Linked DNA regions of Homo sapiens: region 1 is linked to region 2. Evidence: promoter capture Hi-C in 16 types of primary human blood cells and fetal thymus (Javierre and others, 2016). All regions are on one chromosome and are shown on one strand. The core of a region is centred on a gene start or on the middle of the fragment in contact, and the rest is flanking DNA. Distances in the headings are between cores, read along the strand shown.

Region 1 (7,553 bases), core at 995-3,494, 160 kb before region 2:
TCCACCTACAGCTGCTGGAGTAAGGAGTGTGTAAAAACTGTAGGTGGCTCTCAGCCACGTGGTCAGAATCACGATGTACACACCATCTGGGGTGTACACACCAACTGGGGAGCACCCTTTCCTCCCCTCACAGCCTCTCCTCAGAGAACAACCCAGGCAGCATTGCTTCCTAGTGCCACACCTCAGTCCTATGTAACACACTAGCCTTCCTGGCCACACCCCTCACAGGCTTCCACTTCAGCTGATTATAAATGTTCAGCCATGAAGCGCACTTTTAGTTTCCCTGTTCCGGGAGAGAAGATATTTCCTTAGATAGAGTCCTAAAATTGACCAGCCAGGGATAAGAGAAGCTACGAATAATTTTATAACTTTGGTTACACTCACCTAGTTTGCTTTCCAGAAAGATTAGAACAACAAATATCTTCGTACCAGTTATATCAGAGACCTGAAAATAGTGTGATTTTTTTGGGTCCTTTATTTTTATATGTACTTTTAAAAATACAAAGAACATATAAATATAAAATAATTTCATTTAACCAAAATATCAAACTGAGAGCAAGCTAATCCAAGTGGTCTTTGCCTTATTCTGAATTATTTGCATAATAAATGTTTCCAGTGGTATTAATGTTAATTTTAGGAGGACTGTTTGGATTGTTTTATTTTAATATCAGACACACAGACTAGCTCCTGAGCTTACCCACCTGGGACAGCAAGTATGGAAAGTCATGAAAGTGAATAAGGAGTGTCTCTCAGAAGTTAGGCAGCAAAACTGCAGCCCTTCGCCAAACAGCAGCAAGTTCTAGGGAAGCAGAAAGGCAAATGGTGCTAACAGCAGCCATCTCTGAGCCAGCCCACAATTCCTCACCCACTGAAGTTATTAGCTAAAAATGCAGGGCTCCGGTCATATTTTATGTGTGTTTATTCCAAGCCTTCAAGTCTCATAATCCCTTTGCTGTCTGGTGGCATATGGACTGTGAGTCTCCAGGGCATAGCCAGGACAAGGTGTCTAGACTGCCCGATGGCGCCTGGTAACCCGGCCCTTCCCCAGTCAAGAATACTCCGGGCAGAAGCTGCTCCCCCGGACATGCCAGAGATCCTCACCCCGGCACACAGACAGACTAGCTCTGAGGCTCTTCCTGGATGTCCTAAATGGCCTCTCGGGACTCACAGGGGCTCACCCACATGGTCACCCGACTGAAGAGCGCTTGAATGGTAGCCATGGGGTTTTCCAAGCTATCTTGGGACTGAAACAACACCTCCTGGCTGACAGTCAGTCCAGTGAGACGGAGAGCCCAGTACTCCTCGTCCTCCTCATGCTCTGAGCACTTGGGACTGGCCTGCACATTTGGGCTCCTGGGACTCCATGACAGATTACTATCCCACTCCGGACCCCAGCTCCCTGGCAAACACAAACCAAATTGTGAAGGGAGGCTCCTCTCAAGGTACTGCCATCCACCACCTCAATTAACTTCTCAAGAAAATAATCACTGCTATTGCTCTGCTGAGCACCTCCTAGGAGCCAGGGGCCAAGGCACTTTACAAGCATTACATTCAGTCCTCCCAGCAACTTCACATAGCAGGTAACAGCATCTGTTTCACAGATGAGGAAAGGAAATTAGGCATTAAGGGATTTACTCAAAACTCACTGAGAGCACAGTGACAGAGCTGGAGTCAAACCAGAGATCACCTGACTTCAAAGCTCTCTTCCACACCCTGTGTGCAATACGCCTCCACACTTTGATTCTGAAATAAAGAATAGCATCTAGGAAACTGACCTAACCACGAAGAAACTGCTTTCCTCTCCAATAAGAACGAATAGCACTCTGGTGTTTAGGGATCTATGGAGGCATAGGCACAAAACCTCAATTTATTTGGAGTAATCATATTGCTCTAAATTACTCGAAAATAACTCATATTTTGGGTCTGAGAATAATATCACCAAAATTATTTCATCAAGTATGGATAGCGAATGGCCCACTGCAGTAGGCAGATATGATAAAGTAAAAGGACTTCTCTCCTCTACCAGGAGCACACCCCGAGAAGACGGTGGAAGAGTTATGACCAGGTATCCTGATATGTCCACCTTCCTGCCAGTGTTTACAAAAACCAAATTAAAAAAAATTTCACTTGCTTAGTAAAAATTTTCATCAATATTTAAGCTTTTGGTAAATGTTTAGTATCTCTGATACCTGATACCGTTTTCATTAGAAACTGCCTGAGGAGAAAGAACTGATTGTTTTTCCTATAATAAAATGGTGATGGCTTTTCTAATGGGGAGGTAACCGGATACAAATAGAGAGAAGCACAGCTTAGAGTGGAAAAAAGCTTAACCATTATGGCATTTTTTTTAGTGCAGCTTCAATGTATAGTAATTTTATGTTTGTTAATTACTGCTCACCTTGCTAGAGAAACAATTTCAAAAGAGAGTAGTTAAATCTGCTTGCCAATTAAGGCCTCAAGAGAAAATTATTTTTATCTTAAGATGATCTAATAAAGTTTAGATAAAATTAGAATTGGCTAGGGGAAATCTGATGAGGAGGATGTGCATGGTCTCACACTATCTCCCCACTCACTGCTCATTAGTGTCAAAGAAAAAAATAGTAACTATACAGTGGAGAAATAGGACAAGTCCTTGATCAGGTAATCAAAATTAATATCACTAAACATCACACACCTCCAGATGAGATACTCGAGAAGGATGCATCATCACTTATGACTTATGGAGTATTCCAGCTTTATTTGGTCATGAGGAAACATCAGAAAAACTCCAAAAGATGAACGTTCTTTTAAATTGGAACTATATTCTTTACAAATGTCAATGTCCTGGAAGACAAAGAATGACTGTGGAAATGTTCCAAATTAACGGAGGCTATGGAGATGTGACAACTAAGTGTAACATCTGGAGGAAAAGAAATGTTACAAAGAATATTGTCAACTGATGAAACTAGAACACTAACGATAGATTAAAGTATTTTTTCAATGTAAGATTTACAGAGGTTGATAACTGTATTGATTATGTAAAAGCATATCCTTATTTTTAGGAAAAATATACTGAACATTTAGGAGTAAAGTACCTTGATGATTGCAACGTATTCTCAAATAGTCACCCCCTTCCAGCTTATATATTTATACACACACACAAACACACACACACACACACACACACACACACACAGAGAGAGAGAATAAGCAAACAAGGCAAATGATAAACATAGGTGACTCTGGATAATGAGAGTATACAGGTGTTCTTGCACTATTCTTACACTTATAACTTTCTCTAAGAGTAAAATTTTATCCAAATGAAGTTAAAAAAATTGTCAAAAAAAGAAAACACACACGTATGTACTTTCTCAGTACCAGACTCAAGAAAACAACCAACTCACCCCGTATGAACTTCCTCCTAATGGAGTGTGGTTTTAGACTGATACGCACGGGAGGCGAGACAGAAGGAAATGCTGGAAATGGGACAAAGTGAGAGGGAAAAAGAAAAACGGCAACAGTTTATACAAACTCAACCCCAGTCCAGCTTAAGGGACGTGTGACTTAAGGAGCATGCAACTTTTCTGTGTTTCTTGAGAGTGGACTGCAAGAAGAAAGACATGAAGGTGTCATAACCCAGGGCAAAAGCCTGCTTAGCATCTAAATCCACAGAATCTCGCCAACAATCAGAAATAATAAAGTCTCAGTCTCTGCTCAATAGAAATTATGAAGATTTGCCATGACAAATCTTGCAAAATGAACTGCAGAGTCAACCTCATGCTGAATTTTCACCTCATTTTCTTATGCTGATTCACTGCAGGAATGTCCTTACTGACAGTTTAAAAACTGATTTTCTGTTTGCGCCAGATAGCTTTTAATTTCCCTGGCTGATCCTGCATTACATACTTGTAATACATGAGGTAGAGAAACAGAAGCTGAGAGAGAACAAAGAATCAAATGCCACATTTGCTAACAGCAATGACAGAAATTCTAGCAATGCTGAGGAGCTTGTCAATCTTTCAAGAATGGATCCTGACTAGAACTTGGTTTTTCTACATTCTTTCTAAAGCCAAGTGGCCTGAGAGTGACCTAAGGAACACTTCCAGGTCGAGTCTAAAAAAACAAAAACAAAATACTTTTCCCTAGACAGGAGTCCTCTCACCTTCAAAGGAAGTTTCTAAGATTTTCCAAAGCAGAGCCTATTTCAGAACCAAAAGTAGATCCTGCTCTCAAAAACAAATATACTTTAAAGACTTATTTTAATCAAAACAGGAAAATACAAGGTTCAAACTATGTTGGTTTTCCCTGGGTGTTCTGATTTTAGCTTACTCTTCCTTTCACAGATCTTTGTAAAAAATGACACTGTTCACCTGGAAAACAGGGCTTTGAGTAGATGTCCTTTGTTCTTTAAAACATTATAATCTATTGTCTCCATTTTGTGTGAGTAGGAGATATGTTGAAAATCAATAAAATGTTACATCTTACATTGCATCAAATTTTAATAAAGCATTGAGGGTAGCTATCAAAAAGGCCATTATGAAAAAGGCCAGCATTATCTTATCAGCCTTGATCATTAGAAAACAGAAAAAACAATCCTAATTCCAGTAGCACCAGAAAATAGGAGAGCCCTATGAATAACCTCACCAATAAAAATTTTAAAGAAACAGATGGAGAAAGAGAAACATGTTTTGGGCTGTGGAGAATTAAGATTATCTGAAAAATTAAGACACCCTTTATGTCAAAATAACTATAGTCCCAATCACTCCATATAAGACATTTTTTTTAATGGATAGTAAAGTCTTGATTCTATAGTTCACTCCAGCTCTACCACTTACACAATTAGTGTGTCCCTGGGCAAGTAACTTTCCATTCTATGCCTCAGTTTCCTCATCTGTAAAATAGGAATAGAGTGATAGTGTTCTGAGGATTAAGTGAGTTCATGCCTGGCACGTAGTTCGCACTCAATAATAGTTTACTATTACAAGTGCCACCATTACTACAGTTTCTGAACAAGGCCATTTTTTGAAGAAGAAAAATAAAAACGATTACCATGGTAATTAAAATACTATGGTACTGATGCAAGGATCAAACAGATCAATGGAAGAGAACAGATAACTCTGAAACACTATACATACAAGCACACATAGTTTTAATATAATTAATTAAGCATAAAAAACTAATTAGAAATGGGTTATTTAACAAACAGTTTTAGTAAACTGGCTAAATATCTGGAAGAAAATCAGCTGAGAATCTCATAGCATATTACACTCAACATAATCCAAATGAATTGAAAACATAAATGTTTAAAAAAAGCATGCAGAAGAAGAAATATATAGGTAAAATTTTATATAAATTTGGAATAGGGACAGACTTTTCTCTACCTTGAAGGGAAAATAATCACCAAAGTGAAGTGCTAAACTGAGAAAAACAGAATCAATAATATAAAAAGGCTATCTGCTTTATAAAACATCTATTTAAGCCCAAAGAAAATAAATGGGAAGAGCAATGGATGAACAACTAAAATTAAGGAAAACTTAATGAACAACTGAAAAACATTTAACCCCATTAGTAACTGAAAAATGCAAATCAAAACAAAGCAGTGTGTTGAAAATAAGTAGAGTGCTCAGGGCTGGCACAGCGCAGCAAGACAAGCACACTCACACCCTGGCAGTGGGACACAAAGTCAACGCAGCACCATCAAGACCTTGAAGGTTCACACCCCACCATCTCAGACTTCACCTTTTAGACCCTCCCCAGGGAAACAATCATGGCTAGAGAAAAAGATTCATGTATAAAGGGTGCTTTGTTGCAAGGTTACTTACAATGGTGATACGGAACCTGAATGCTCAACACTGAGGGAGTAATAGTTAAATCAAAGATGAAAACTCATACCATGAAATAGGATGAAACCACTAAAATCTCCCAGCTTTGAAGATTAGCATGTTGTGAGACCATTCCCATGTCCCTCAATCATATTAAGGGAAACACACCAAGCCTATGAAACTATACATAACATTTTCCCTGATCCTGAATGACTGAATAAATAAACCAGGTATACAAAAGGGGCAGAAACAAAATAAGCTAACATTGGCTAACTTAGTGATAAGATTATGAGTTATTCACATTGTGTTTTTTATTTTTATTTTACATTTTTTATAATTTTTTTAACCATGAATATCTAGAACTTGAATACTCAGGAAAATAACAAATGTTGACAAATAAGGAAAGAGTTAACTCATGGAATGAAAAAAATTAACAGTCAACCCTACTAGAGGCTTTCCAAAAACCTTCCTGAGTCTAGAACACTTACCACACACACTCTATTTTTCTTTATTTCTCACGAGCGACCACGATGCTCAGGCTCCATTCCTGCCTAAAGAAACGTAACCAGGCTAGGCACAGTGGTTCACGCCTGTAATCCCAGCACTTTGGGAGGCCAAGGTGGGTGGATCACGAGGTCAGGAGTTCGAGACCAGCCTGACCATGATGGTGAAACCCCGTCTCTACTAAAAATACAAAAATTAGCCAGGTGCGGTGGCAGGCACCTGTAATCCCAGCTACTCGGGAGGCTGAGGCACAAGAATCGCTTGAACCCTGGAGGTGGAAGTTGCAGTGAGCTGAGATGGCGCCACTGCACTCTAGCCTGGCTGACAGAGCAAGACTCTGTCTCAAAAAAAAAAAAGGAAAAGAAAAAGAAACAAGAAACATAACCAGAGCAGTTTTGCAAGGTGAACCTGGGTTGTGCCTGGCCCTCCTGAGCCTCTCCTGGAGCTGCTCTTCAGCTCCCGGCCACTTTTTTTTTTTTTTTTTTTTTTTTTGAGATGGAGTCTTGCTCTGTCACCCAGGCTGGAATGCAATGGTGCCATCTTAGCTCACTGCCACCTCTGCTTCCTGGGTTCAAGCGATTCTCCTGCTTCAGCCTCCTGAGTACCTGGGACACGGGCATGTGCCACCATACCCAGCTGATTTTTGTTTTTGTTTTTAGTAGATACTGGGTTTCACCATATTGGCCAGCCTGGTCTCAAACTCCTGGCCTGAAGTTATCCACTCACCTCAGACTCCCAAAGAGCTGGGGTTACAGACATGAGCCGCTGCAACCAGTCCCAGCCACATCCTTACTTCCCCACCTGCAAATAGGCATAGCCCTGCTTGGCCTAATTAGAGAAGTACTTTTTTCTTATTTTTTTGTAGTATTAAAACACACACACACACATACATACAACCCTCAAACTATCTTTCACTCATACATATTGAAATTTCTTACACACAATGGATATTTCTTATTATCGGAATTTGTGTTTTCATAGATCCCAGCACTATGAACTAATACTGTGTCCCTTTATAAAGGGTTTCTAACACTTCCAGTTTACTTGGTTGTTTTCATTGCCAGTATCAAAAATGGTGTGTTTATACTCCCCAGTTTTGTTGCCTAATTATTTTAATTAATATTCTTTTCATTTTTTTCTTTAGTATAAAGACAAAACACTAGTTCCTTCTCCTTTCTTCATTCCCATAAAATATGTATGATGGGAGAAAAATTTCTGCTCCAGAAAAGAAATCCATGACCCTGACTG
Region 2 (6,915 bases), core at 3,753-6,252:
TATTCAGAAGACCTTTTGGAAGGTTTGCAATAGCTTGGTTTTACAATGAAATGACAGTCTCCCTTATTTGTGACTTGAAATACTATTTCATGTTTCAATAATTTTAAGCAACTAAGGAGATAAATAAGGCTCCATGAATAGTATCTATTACAAAATTCTTTTAAAATAAGCTTATAGATTGTAGAATTAAAACATGGAGTAGAATTTGTAGAATGTAATAGGAAGGACTAAATACATGAAAACAGATATTTTCACTAGAATTAGACTAGAAGAAACAATTATCACAATTCTAGAAATAAGTATTCATGGATTAACTCAAAGAGAAGCGGATTCAGCTACTCAGCTTTGTAATTTAAAGTGCATTAGTTTTTTGGTCTTGTTGTACCTTAGACTTGCTAAATTAATCATTTTACCTATTCTTACCACAGACAATGACTTACTCTCTACCAAATAAAACGTTGGTTTATAAGGAATTATTTCTTTGATGATTCTGATATTGCTTATATTTTTATTGTCTCTTCCATAGTAATGACAAATTGCTATTAAACAATTTACACAGTTCACATCATTAAACATCTAGTTACAATACCTGGCATTACAATATTTTGATTTTGTGAAATGTTATACTATATGCTTTATATTTTAGAAAAATTAAGATCATAGCCACTAGCCACAGAAACCTTTCATATCTCAAAACTTTAACTGATATAATTTCTCTGCTTATTATTTTCAATAATTTAAAATATTCAAAATGTCATGACTACTTACTAGTGCTCATTTATAACCTAAAATAATCTGTTATTCCTATTGCTTAGAATTCTATTATTATACTTAGCATTTGAGGCTCTCTGTAATCTGGCATTTTCCTTACTCAACAAATGTCCTTTCTACCACTCTGTAGCATGAGTGGATCATTCTATTCAAGATAATATTTTAAATTGTCCCATAAATATATCAGGCTCATTCCCATCACTCTTTTATTCATATTGCTCCCCAAAATGTAACATCCTCTTCTCTCTTTTTACCATCTATCTATATTCTAGTATTATGATCATTCAGAATACCTATATAATTAATTACCTTTAAAGAAAGGAAATTAGAACCTCACTTCATACATTCAAAAACGTTAGATATATTAAAAAGTCTAAAAATTAAAGTATAACACAGCTAGAAGAAAATATATGTAAATATTTGAACACAGAATAAAGTCTAAATATAAAACCAATGGAATAAATTATAAATTATCACTGGATTTCATAAAAACAAAGTTCCATACACTAAAAATAACCATTGAACAAACTGAAATGACAAGAAACTGAACTCCTATATCAGAAACTGTATAAAAGATACCTTCTTAAGTTTCCCTTTCCAAATATTTCAGAGAACACCTGAAGGCTATTTATACCAAGCAAAACAGAAATATTACAGTCAAATATATTTCCAATAAGGATTTTCTGCAGGTTTATTTTAGGGAATCTGCTTATTTTTGCTGCTTAATTCTAAACCCTCCCATTAGGTATTTTAAATGCCTGGGCTTCGTTTTTTTCAACAAATGTTTTTATTGCACTGCAGCCACATGCCAGGAATTGTGCTAGATACAAAAATGCACTGATGTGTAAAACAAATATGATCCCATCACACAACTGAAGCCTAGTGGAAGATAAACTTTAATCAAGTAATCACACAAATTGTGGCTTATAAACAAAAGGTGCAGGGCACTATGAGAGCATATAAAAGCAACTTCACCTATTGGGGATATGGGATATGTATATGTCAAGGAAGACTTCTTATCTACATACAACTGTAAGCTTTTAAAACAGCAGGGCTCTATCATAAATAGATTCTGCACCTTTCTGCATCTAACACAGTAAGTCTTCTATATTTGTTAAATAATTTGTTCCAATTAAAATTTGAGGCTGTCCTTACTAACTAGCCTTCTTTTTCAGTGGTGTGCATGAAGTCAGCTTTAGAATGATCAATACTGTAGACTAGACACTTTAAGAGAGACAATTTAGAAAGACACACTTTTATTCTTATGATTAAACAATTTAAAAAGAAATCTGTTTATATGATTTAATAATCAATATTATCAGATTTAATGGTAAAATACCATTTAAACATCAAAGGAATAACGTTAATTCATATTTCTTTAAAAAATTATTCACATAATTCATGAACTAAAACAGCTTTAAAATTTTTTTCACTAACAGTACACATAGGTCCTTGAAAGTTTTTTAAAAGCATGTATTTTTACATTGTGTATCCTGGAAGTTTATTTATTACTAATTCACAAATATCTTTGCATTGCTTGGAAATATTTAGTGAACCAACATCATCATTGCCTTCTTCAAAGTGATCTGATGTACTGCTATCCAGGACATTAAGTTCGGACACATTTGAAGGCAGGTAAGAACTCACCTGGGATGTTTGTGGTGACTGGCTTTTTTCTAAAGATTTCCAACTACTTCTTGTTTTAACAGAGATGTCTTGAGCTCTCTTTGTAATTTCAGAATTGTGCATACTATTTTGATCTATCTGGTTTTCTTTTTGTTCAGTCCAATGTGTTGAAGATAAATCACTAGCAGAGATACTAGATGCTTCCTCCAAACTTTTATCCTGAGTCTTTGAAATATGAAATTTTCTGTATGAGTGTACAGGTGACCCGGCTGAAAAAGGTGGGCTAAGGATAGAACTCCTGTCACTACTATTTTTCTTTTTGGACACTCCTGTGTCACTAGACTTGCTTGTATATTGACTATGTTTTGGATTTTCTGTCCTTGAACTGCTATCATGAGCTTTGAAACTTCTGCTGGTGTCCTCACTGGTACAGAAATCTTCAGAATAGCAAGGGCTAGACAAATCATCTGAATACTTCAGTTCTGAGATGTTTTCATAGCAACTATTTTTACCTGTTCTCTTGTCACTTATATCAGCCATAAGAATGTCATTATCTGTGGTTTTGACCTGTCTAATATCTATTTCCTTATCTACAATTCTGTCAACAACAGCATCCTGTTGGAAAACACATGGACTTTGGATTTTCATTTCCACATTTCCTCCCAGAATATTTGTAGGGGTAAGCCTTTCTGGAATAATGGAATTTGCAGGACTCACAACTTCTTCCAATGAAACATTATTGATTCTATTTTTACTACAATCAACTGTCTTTTTTTCAGTTGCATATTTCAGTTTAGTTTCTTTACTTGTGCTGGGCTCATCAAAAACTCCACTGATTTGTCTTGAGGTATCACTATTTTCAGTGAAAGATGCATCTGAATCTAAATACTTATCTTCAGGCAGTTGTGGCTTCTGACTTTGTTCTGCAGAGCTTAATAGTTTAACTTTGGATGACGGAATTCTGAATTTTGTACCCAACATTTGTGATTGTCTTTTTCTATATAGTTCTCTTTTTTCATGTACCACCAACATATCAGGATTTGTCAGCTTTAAACGTAGTCTTAGTGTATTTGTTAAGCCATAAAGTAGCCTCCCTTTTGGAACTCTTTTATGGAGGGCACCACTGCTCTTTTCAGAATATTTATCTTCCTTATAGTTTTCAATTTGGTTCTTTTTATACTGAAGACTCACTGACTTTTCACATCCCCCCACAGAACGCTTATCCTTCTTGGCTTCAGACCGGCATGTGGATTTGGCAGAAGATTCGGGTGACTTCTTATCCTCAGTCCTATATAACCAGGCTAGGTGAGGATGTATATGAGCAGGACTTGTCACAGGTTGGTCATATAACAAGGACAACTCAACTAACAAAGCATTTAACAAAGGCAACTGCCTTATTGTATTAATTCGATTTTGTTCAGTTTGACATGTTTGATTAGTTGCTCCTATATTCTGAATATGTGGAGGATTTACAAGCATTGGAGGATGTTCGTGTGCTGCAGAACTTGGATGCTTTAGACAACTCCTGTGTGCTGGGGGATTTACACGCTTTTTTTCAGGAGAAGCATCATCCATTTCCTCAGGTGCATTCATTTGAGGCTCAATGGTGATTTTAGCCTGTGCAGGGGGCGGTTTTTCTTGGGTCAAGTTAGTGTAATACAAAGGAGGAGGGCAAAATATATTGGTCTCCATGTCCAATTCTGTGACTTCCTCATTTAGGGAGCTAACATTTCTCCCATTGCCAGCACCTGAACATGTAACAACAGAATTGGTTTTGCCATTCTCCACAGAACCCACATTATCACATTCGGCCTTACTTTTAACCATTTCCTTCAAATCCTTCTGTGCCTCTGGGATTTCTAACTCCCCCAGCGGCTTATCAGCCTCTTTTGGGCTTGGCTGTGAGGCTGGCTGCTGCAGCTGCTGTCTTTCCTGCTGGGTTTGGGGACTGACCTCCGCTCCTCCTCCTGTGCGGGTGAAGGTGAGGGGCCGCTCAAGTTGGCTCAGCAGGCGGCTTCCCAGGTCAGTCAGGCGGTAGGCCAGTGCAATGTCCCCAGTCCGCTCGCCCACTCGATTATGCAGGGGGAAACGTCCCCGGTGACGGTGGGAGCATCCGGAGGCGGCCGGCCCCACGACCCTGTGCGCTGCGGTGGCCAGCGAAATGTCGCAGGCCCCCAGGAGCTGTGGGGTGGGCGTCGGGCGCCCAGGGGGCAGCTGCAGCAGCAAGGTGGCAAGCGGGGTCCGCAGGAGCCGGCAGTGCAGGGTAGCAGGCTGCAGGCGGAAGAGGCAGGACTTGCCGCGACCGAAGCGGATGACACCGGGCCACGGTTCGGCGGCGGGAGCGCCGGGGCCGTCAGGAGGGTAAACCAACAGCGTGGGGAAGTCCAGCAGGCGGAAGGCCACGGCGGGGCACAGACCGCGCGGCGACGAGGCCTCCCCCTGCTCCTTTTCCTCCTCTTCCTCCTCCTGCTCCACTGCGGCAGCGGGGGACGGCAGCAGCCGGGCTTCCAAACGCACCCAGTCCACCAGCAGCTCCAGCGAGAAGAGCCGCTCGGACAGCGAGGCCGCCATTGCTGTTGCCCCAGGAAACGCCGCCGCGGGCTCCGCAAACGAGAAGCTGAAGCCCCGGGGTCTCACGAGAAACCGGAGCAAAAGGCATCGCTGCCTGCTATCTCGCGAGATTTGCGGAAGCGCTCCAGCGGGTCTCGGGCGGTGTCTGCTTTGGGGGTTTTGCTGCTCAATGTGTTTGGCCCCTTTGTATGCATACTTGTGAGCCGTTTTTTGCCACCAACCTTGTATTAAGACAATTGATGATAATGCTGAGGATATAAGTGGTAAAAGACAGTGAGTTTTTTGGGTAATGGTTTTATCACTGCAGATCTTATGTAACTTGGGGGTCAGATCAATATACCTGAGGAATATTGAAAGAAAATCAGGACTCTCCTTCCTTTCCCATGCTAAACAGAGCCAGTTAGTTAACTGTCCACAGTGGGCCATCTCTGTGTCTGCTGTTCTACCCAAAAGATGGTGACACTGCTGGGATGGCCAGGGAGCCCCTGCCTCATCAATTACAGTAGTACTGAGACAGACACACCACACACACACGGAGTGTGAATACACTGGCAAAAACTCTCCTTGGCTGAACTTTGGTCAGGCTCATCTAAGCCTTCTTTCCGACTAGGCCTTGACCTTGGCTTCCAATCCTGTGGACCCTGGATCACCGAGTTGTAGCAAAGGTCTCGCTACGGCTGTTGAGAGAGAACCCCCAACCCTTCATACCTGATTACCGTCGATACCTGATCAAATTCTTCATTTTCTATCATTGGTATCTGACCACCCTGGCCTGGCTTCAGCAAGAATCCTATTAGGCCTGCTTAATCAGAACCCTCCCACCCGTGATGTTCCCTATCAGTAAGTTTCCATCCACTTGACCTGACGCCCCCTTGGCTTTAAATCCCCACTTGTCCATGCTGTAATTGGAATTGAGCCCAGCTCTGTATTGAGGTCTCTTTTCTCTTATTGCAGTAGTTCCTGACTACAGTGTTTTTGCCACTTCAACTACTGTCTGGCCCTGTTTTTTATTTGACAACATTTCCAGCTAAGCAATCATGATGCATGAGAGTAATGTTAATGATTCCATCAATAAAACAAATGTGTGTACATAAATATACACACATCTACAGAGACACACAGAACTTGCTGCTCTATCCAGATATTTTAAGAAACATACTCCTAACCTCAATGAGCTAGCCAGCTAGGAATCCAAGGCCAGTTTTTGGAGAGCCTTGAATGCCATGGTAAAGAATTTGGACTATATTCTGTCCAAATTTTTTTGATTGAATAAGTACATCATAGCAATATTTGGAAATGTATCATGGGGAGGAATACAAAGGATGGATTCTACTAATTAGAAATTGGATTCAGAGCAATCTATTAGAAGACTACTGCAGTGGTCTAAGAGGCAGATAATTATGACCTGCACATGGTCAGGACTAGTGGAAATTAAAAAGAGGTGGCAGAAGAGGCATTTGTGATGGAGGAATTTTAAAATTTGGTGAATGGGAAAGAAAAGTCATGGGTGAAAAACTTCTGCTACTGAAGGTGAAAATATTGAGGAGGCACAGATTTGACGGAAAAAAATACTTTGAGTTTTGAGATATGTAAAGCTTGAGGTACCTGCTGCTGGGCATTATATATGTACCGCTTTATTCAGCTTTATAAATTATAGTTAAATTATATTGCTTCAGTGCTCAGAAGAACATTGTGAAGCTCAAGAGAAATTCAGAACTGGAGGGATATGATGCTTTAGTGTGAAGACGTGAGAGAGAAGTCTCATTGCAATATATAAATACAAGATACTTCTCGGACCAGATGCGGTGGCTCACGCCTGTAATCCCAGCACTTTGGGAGGCCGAGGCAGGCAGAACACGAGGTCAAGAGATCGAGGCCATCCTGGCCAACATGATGAAACCCCGTCTCTACTAAAAATACAAAAATCAGCTGGGTGTGGTGGTGCAT

What was found. Contacts are between HindIII fragments. The CHiCAGO score rates a contact against its expected background, and 5 or more counts as called.
Region 1: a contact is called between a fragment that was not itself captured here and the fragment with the promoter of MAP10 in region 2, in 1 of 17 cell types (fetal thymus). The highest score is 5.7, in fetal thymus.

Annotation. Positions count from the first base shown.
Region 1 is chr1:232,959,458-232,967,010 of GRCh38, reverse strand. All of the region lies in intron 3 of NTPCR (nucleoside-triphosphatase, cancer-related), which reads right to left. Among named protein-coding and RNA genes, the nearest start is that of NTPCR, 13 kb to the right of the region's middle. The HindIII fragment of the contact is 166 bases long and covers 2,162-2,327 here.
Region 2 is chr1:232,803,503-232,810,417 of GRCh38, reverse strand. MAP10 (microtubule associated protein 10) reads right to left here and starts at 5,002. Exons shown (of 1, transcript NM_019090.3): 1 at 489-5,002. The coding sequence starts at 4,968. The coding sequence ends at 2,251. RefSeq lists enhancers at 4,013-4,609, 4,819-4,898, 4,610-5,207. The HindIII fragment of the contact is 4,755 bases long and covers 1,811-6,565 here.